Linked DNA regions of Homo sapiens: region 2 is linked to region 1. The links are contacts of gene promoters, found by promoter capture Hi-C in human tissues and cell types (Jung and others, 2019). All regions are on one chromosome and are shown on one strand. Each heading gives the region's core, a stretch centred on a gene start or on the middle of the fragment in contact. The rest is flanking DNA. Distances are from core to core; before and after follow the strand shown. Region 1 holds the start of CCL21 (C-C motif chemokine ligand 21). Region 2 overlaps PHF24 (PHD finger protein 24).

Region 1 (3,385 bases), core at 262-2,761:
TTGAATAGTTCCCAGGGAAAAGAGAGGAAGCCTCTGGGATATCTGGGGAAAGGTCTGAAGGTCATGGAAAAGATCCGAAGGTCACCCCTGGAGTTAGTGCAGGACAGAATCAGGGTCTCAGAGGTCTGCAGAGCTGTTGGGGGTGTGTGCTCCATGTCCACCACCTCTCCATTGGCAGGATGCCTCAGAAGACTGGGTCCTACCCTGTCCTTCAGCCTCCCTTTAACTGCTCAGGGGTGCAGGCACCTGAGAGGCAAGGAAACTCTTGGGGTAGATGAGAACATAGCATTTTTCAGCCTGAGCTTTCGGCTCAGAGTGTGTGACCCCACCCTGTAGGAACCTTGGCATCTCGGTGGACATAAACACATGGGAACAGGTACTTGGGTGGGAAGACAGAACAGCTTTTTATTCAGTTAGGTATAAATCATATTTACAAGGAAGAGGTGGGGTGTACTGGGGAGCCGTATCAGGTCCAGGGTCCTGATGATTCTCCTTCAAGGGGACAGTCCTGCTGCCTCCTCTCATGCTCCCTGGGAGACTCTCCCTCCTCGGTCTCTCTGGACCTGGCCTGCTGTGGGCAGCTCAGCCATGCAGGGTAGAGCTGGGAATGCAGATGGGGTGGTTAAAGCAGGAGAAAGAGTGTGGCAAGGCCAGCATGGGGTGGCTGCTCCAGGGCCCCTGAGCATAGCCTCCTTCTTGCATCTTGGGTTCAGGCTTCAAGCGCTGGTGAGGCTGGTGGGGTCTCCAGGGCTCCAGGCTGCTCACTGGGCTATGGCCCTTTAGGGGTCTGTGACCGCTCAGTCCTGTGAGGGCAGAAGAGGGGTGTGAGGGGCTGACTGAGGCTCCCCTTTACCCACATCCCTCAGATTCCTCACCTCTTGCAGCCTTTGGAGCCCTTTCCTTTCTTGCCAGTCTTGGAGGCCCCCCTGTCCTTCCTGCAGCCCTGGGCTGGTTTCTGTGGGGATGGTGTCTTGTCCAGATGCTGCATCAGCTGCTGCACCCAGAGCTCCTTTGGGTCTGCACATAGCTCTGCCTGAGAGCGCTTGCGGGGCAAGAACCTGCGGGTGGGGGCTAGTAAGCCTTCTTAGTCTTGCCCACCATGCCCTCCCCACCCCGTCACCAGCCAGTACCCACCCCTTTGTGTCCACTCACAGGATAGCTGGGATGGAGCAGCCTAAGCTTGGTTCCTGCTTCCGGTAGCTGCGGACAACCTTGGCGGGAATCTTCCTTTGGCTGTACTTGAGGCAACAGTCCTGAGCCCCTCCATCACTGCCTGCAGGGTGGGATTCACAGGGAGCCAGGGGCTGCTGGCAAGCTCCTATCCAGGCCTCTTGATCCCCTTAGCCCCATGCAAGGCCCCTCCCTGCCTTGGTACCTTGGGTCCTGGGGATGCCAAAGGCCAGAACCAGGATAAGGAGGCTCAGAGCCAGTGACTGAGCCATGTCTGTGGTAGAGGGTGAGTAAGAGGCCAGAGCTGAGGGTGAGGTGGGCAGCTGCAAGTTGGGGGTCTGTGCGTGGGCTGGGATTGGCCTGCTATTTATGTAGCTAGACACTTTCACTTCCCTTAACTTATCCCCACTCCTTTTCCTTCCTGAAAGCTGGATTTGCTGGCACCCAGCCCCACTTATCTCAAACTAAGTGGACAGTCCTCAGCTGCCAAATTTTATGTCCTCATTAGTTGAATATGTCTGGGCCTGAGCCTTCCTTCTATTCCCAGCTACTGCTTTCATGCAGGCCTCACTGCCTCTCCCCTGGAACACCATGACTGTCTCCTCACTACGCTCCAGGATCCATACCCTTCCCCTCCTTCCAGCAAATCTGATTATTAAATTGTAAGAGTTCTTTTTTTTTTTTTTTTTTTTGAGACAGGGTCTAACTCTGTCACCCAGGCTGGAGTGCAGTGGTTGATCTTGGCTCACTGAAATCTCCGCCTCCTGGGCTCGAGTGATCCTCCTACCTCAACCTCCCCAGGAGCTGGGACTACAGGCAAGCACCACTGCGCCTGGCTGATTTTTCTATTTTTTTTTTGTAGAGACGAGGTTTCACGATGTCTAGCCCAGGCTAGTCTTGAGCTCCTGGGCTCAAATGATCTGCCTGCCTCAGCCTCTTGAGGAGCTGGGACCACAGGCACATGCCACTACGTCCGGCTACTGTTTTCATTTTTCATTTTTATTTTTTCTAGAGATGAGGTCTTGCTATGTTGCCCAGTCTGGTCTTGAACTCCTGGGCTCAAGCGATCCTCCTGCCTTGGCCACCCAAAGTGCTGGAATTATAGGTATGAGCGACTGCACCTGGTCTGTAGCATAACCATTTTGATTCCCCTTTGCTTTCCTTTTCTATATATTTTGTAGTTATTTTCCTAATGGATACCTTGGTGATTATAATTAACATTCTAAACTGATAACAACCTAGTTTGAATAATACCAACTTAGTTTCAATGGTATATAAACATTTTGCTCGTATACATTTTAGTCCCTTCTTTATATTGTTATTGTCACAGATTACATCTTTATACATTGTGTTCCCATTGACATAGATTTATAATTATTGTTTAATGCATTTTCCTTTTAAATTATATAGAAAAAAGTGGGGCTACAAACTAAAAATACAATACTAGCTTTTATCTTTTTTTTTTTTTTTGACACAGGGTCTCGCTTTGTCACCCAGGCTGGAGTGCGGTGGCACAATCTCAGCTCACAGCAGCCTCGACCTCCTGGGCTCAAGTGATCCTTCCACCTCAGTCTCCTGAGTAGTGGGGCCACCATGCCTGGCTAATTTTTGTATTTTTTGTAGACACGAGGTCTCACTATGTTGCCCAGGCTAGTCTCGAACGCCTGACCTCAAGCAATTCACCCGCCTTGGCCTCCCAAAGTAATGGGATTACAAGTGTGAACCAGCATACCTGGCAATGTTGTTACTTTTTTTTTTTTTTTTTTGAGACAGAGTCTCACTCTTTCGCCCAGGCTGGAGTGCAGTGGCGTGATCTTGGCTCACTGCAACCTCCACCCTCCGGGTTCAAGCCATTCTCCTGCCTCAGCCTCCCGAGTAACTGGGATTATGGGCACCTGTCACCACATCCAGCTAATTTTTCTATTTTTTGTAGAGATGGGGTTTCACCATGTTGGCCTGGTTGGTCTCAAACTCCTGACCTCAAATGATCCGCTCACCTTGGCCTCCCAAAGTGCTGGGATTACAGACATGAGCCACTGCGCCCAGCCTGCTATGTTGTTATGTTTATCAGAGATCTTTGTTTCTTTGTGTGGCTGTGAGTTATTATTTTTTGTCCTTTTGTTTCATTCTGAAGGTCTTCCTTTAGCATTTGTTTGTTTGTTTGTTTGTTTTTTCTTTCTCCCGTTAGCTTTTCTTGTGGGCAGGTCTACTATTA
Region 2 (3,412 bases), core at 455-2,954, 270 kb after region 1:
TTCTGTTGTTTAATACTCTTCTTTTCTCACTGCGCCCTCTTTGGTGACTTCATCTACAGCCACCATCTAAACACTAATGACTCCTATTTCTGTGTGTCCAGACCTAAATTTCCTGTCTCTTGCACTTATCCACCTTGATATCTCACAAGTACTTCACACTCATCATGCCCCAAAATGAACTCATCTTTGCCCCCAAACCTGCTCTTCCTCCACTCCTTATCTCTGTGAATAGTAATACCATGCCCCAGTTACCAATTCCAGTTCAATCTCTCCCTCATGCCTCACATCCAGTGAGTCATCAGGTCCTGATGATGCTGCCTCTAATATCTCTCTTCCCTTCTTCATTCTCATGTCTCAGTTTAGCTGCTCATCATTTCTTGCCTGGACTGTTGCGGCAGCCCCCAACTGCTCTCCACACCTCCAGACTCTGCCGCTCTAATCCATCTTCCACACAGCAGCCAGAGATCTGACCACGGCACTCCCCACTTGAAAACCCTTTGGTGGCTCCCTTTTGCCCTCAGAATAAAGGCCTAATTTGAGGGGCTCGATAAAGGGTATTGGAGGTACTTCATAGTAGGCCCCCTCCTTCCCTCACACACACACTCACATGTACTCCAAACCTCAGCCACACTGAACATCTCACAGTGTTACACACCACTGTGGCGCCCAGTGTTTACTAGGTGCTCAGTAGGTGTTTATTGAAAGTATGGTTTGAAAGAAAAATACAACTATTATATATTAGTTTTTAAAAAGTGTTATGGAAGAAAAAGAATGGTTTGAGTTCTTTATGAAATCCACGTATGAATACTCATGAAATATCTGCTCTTGTACTTTGCGGGTATCTCAGAGGAAGAAAATGACCTTGTACTAGAAAGGATCTTTGATAGTTTAAAGACTGTATGGTAACGTCAACACAATAAGATATTGGTGCTCCTTTGGAATTAAAACTTCTGTGGCACTACAAAAAAACTCATTTGGCTTTAGGAGCCTTGTAATAATGGCATCTTTTAAAACCATTCTGGGGTTATTTAAAGTGATACAACCCACTTGGAGCAGAGCTAGGATTAAACTTTTTTTTTTTTTAACTAAAATACATTTTTAGCACAGCCTAACACAGAAGCCAAGTAGATAAAAGGGATGGAGATGGAGCCGCTCTGCTTGATGGAGATAGGGATTCACAACCTGCCTACTCACTAGCCCCCTTATTCCCTGCAGCAGCTTCCTAAGGCACTTCCAAGAAATCCCTAGGTTAGCTCAGAGGAGAAAACCACTGTTTTAGTAAAGGGACTCAGTGCTGGAGTCAGGATATCTGGGTTCTTGGGGAAGATTCTGCCCCAGAGTAAAGACAACTCTGGCCAAGTCCTTTCTCCTCTCTGGGGCCTCAATCTCATTGATTGTGAATAGGAGGCTGGGATTAGATGATCTTGGAACTGCTTTCCAGTTGAAATTCTATTTCTAGCCCCCTTGACCCTGGCCTTTCTTACTGGCCTGTATGGCCACCGACTCAGCTCTTCCTTATTTTCAGGACAACATCAACTTGCTGCTTACTGAGGAGGAAATGTATAGCCTCACGGAGACCTTTCAGCGGTGTAAAGTCATCCCTGGTAAGGTTGGGTGGTGCTGCATGGATGGAGAGGGGCCGGGCAGATTTCTCCTTCAGGCTTTCTAGAATGAACCATGAAAGGAGTGTTCCATATTTAGTGGGTAGAGGGTAAATGAGTCCTTGTTCCTGAGTTGTTGGCCAGCAGAGTCACCTATCCCTGTCACAGCCTGGGTGACCCTGGCCATGGGAGGCAGAGACTTAGCAAGAGCTGTGGGTTTGGGGGCCCCGAGGGTGCCCTGGAGGTGATGGAGGTGCCCTGAGGCTGAGGAAGGATGGGCATGGCTAGCACGGGGTGCCTCCCACAGATTGCTCCCTGACACTGGAGGACTTTCTGCGTTACCGCCACCAAGCAGCCAAGCGGGGGGACCGTGACAGGGCCCTGAGTGAGGAGCAAGAAGAGCAGGCGGCCCGCCAGTTTGCTGCCCTGGACCCTGAACATCGAGGCCACATAGAGTGGCCTGACTTCTTGTCCCATGAGTCCCTCCTGCTTCTGCAGCAGTTGCGTCCCCAGGTGAGGGCCAGTTGGGGCAAATGTTCCTGGGATACTGGGTGACAAGGGCCTGGGAGGCACGCTGGGCAGATTGGGGGAGCACTGGGTCCTGCTCAAGCAGGGACAAGTATCAGGAATGGGCTCAGGTTCCATCCAGTGACAGATGATCTGGTGCCCAGGCTGAGGAAACTGCGTGAGGAAGACTGATCTGCCCTGGGCCGCACTGGAAGTGCTGATGCCTCCAGAAGGGCTCTGGGCAGCTTCTAAGGGAGGTTGCAAAGGTGGTAATGGAGATAGGATTCTCTATGGCTTGGCAGTTTACAAGATATCTTCACCTCTAAGATCTTGTCTCTTCTTCCCCAGAACTCTCTGTTGAGGCTTCTGACAGTGAAGGAGCGGGAGCGAGCCCGAGCCGCCTTCCTGGCTCGGGGCAGTGGGAGCACCGTCAGTGAGGCAGAGTGCCGCCGGGCCCAGCACTCTTGGTTTTGCAAACGGTTCCCAGAGGCTCCTTCCTGCAGTGTCAGGTCTGCTCCTTACCAGTCCTGGTCCCCACTCAGCCTCTCCTCCTCCCTTTTCCATGCCAGTGGCCCTTCCATACCTCCCTGCTCCCCCTGCCAACAGCCGAGAGAGGAGCCTCCTGTGCATTAGGTAGAGGATGGTGATGCCTACGGGCCAGGGCATAGGACAGCCTCTGCCTTCAACTCGGTGTTGCCACATGTCAGAAGAGCCTGGATGAGCATGTCCAGAGCCTTGGGCTTACCAGAGTTTGGGAGGGGGCAGGCATTTCACTATCCCACTCCTAACCACGTGTCCTCATGCCCAGCAGCATCAGCCATGTGGGTCCCATCGCAGATAGCAGCCCAGCCAGCAGCAGCAGCAAGAGTCAGGACAAGACCCTGCTGCCCACAGAGCAGGAGTCCAGGTGAGTAGGACCTCCTCACCTGGCCATTTGTACCCTCTGAACCCCCACAAAACACACAAGTAAGAGAGGGCATTACCCACTCCCACTCCAAAACAGCAAGCGCCCACCCAAGAAACCAGGCTCCAAGAGTGCACATTTGACCCAAGTCTATAGGACCAGCCAGCTGGTCTGTTGGCCTGGTAGCACAGCCAGCCATAGCCAGGTCAGGCATGAGCCAAGCTTCCCTGAGTTTTGTGTAGCTCAAGCCATGCTGCCCCTGGGATCAGGGCTCACGCGTCTTCAAACCAGCCTCCTCAAGCCATGCTGCCCCTGGGATCAGGGCTCACGTGTCTTCAAACCAGCCTCACGACTCTGTTCTTTGCTTCCACTCCAGATTTGTGGACTGGCCTACCTTCCT

The links. The method cuts DNA at HindIII sites, captures the fragments that hold promoters and counts their contacts. A contact is called where the count stands out against the background at its distance.
Region 2: a fragment that was not itself captured here is called in contact with the fragment with the promoter of CCL21 in region 1 in 1 of the 25 tissues and cell types used here (dorsolateral prefrontal cortex).

What each region holds. Positions count from the first base shown.
Region 1 is chr9:34,708,625-34,712,009 of GRCh38, forward strand. It overlaps CCL21 (C-C motif chemokine ligand 21), which reads right to left and starts at 1,512. Exons shown (of 4, transcript NM_002989.4): 1 at 1,376-1,512; 2 at 1,153-1,273; 3 at 876-1,058; 4 at 381-803. The coding sequence starts at 1,442. The coding sequence ends at 770. It also overlaps a transcript of PHF24 not described here. The HindIII fragment of the contact is 9,492 bases long and covers 1-3,385 here.
Region 2 is chr9:34,974,627-34,978,038 of GRCh38, forward strand. PHF24 (PHD finger protein 24) reads left to right here. Exons shown (of 8, transcript NM_015297.3): 4 at 1,526-1,604; 5 at 1,909-2,114; 6 at 2,457-2,617; 7 at 2,920-3,015; 8 at 3,389-3,412. Among named protein-coding and RNA genes, the nearest start is that of DNAJB5-DT, 13 kb to the right of the region's middle. The HindIII fragment of the contact is 7,622 bases long and covers 1-3,412 here.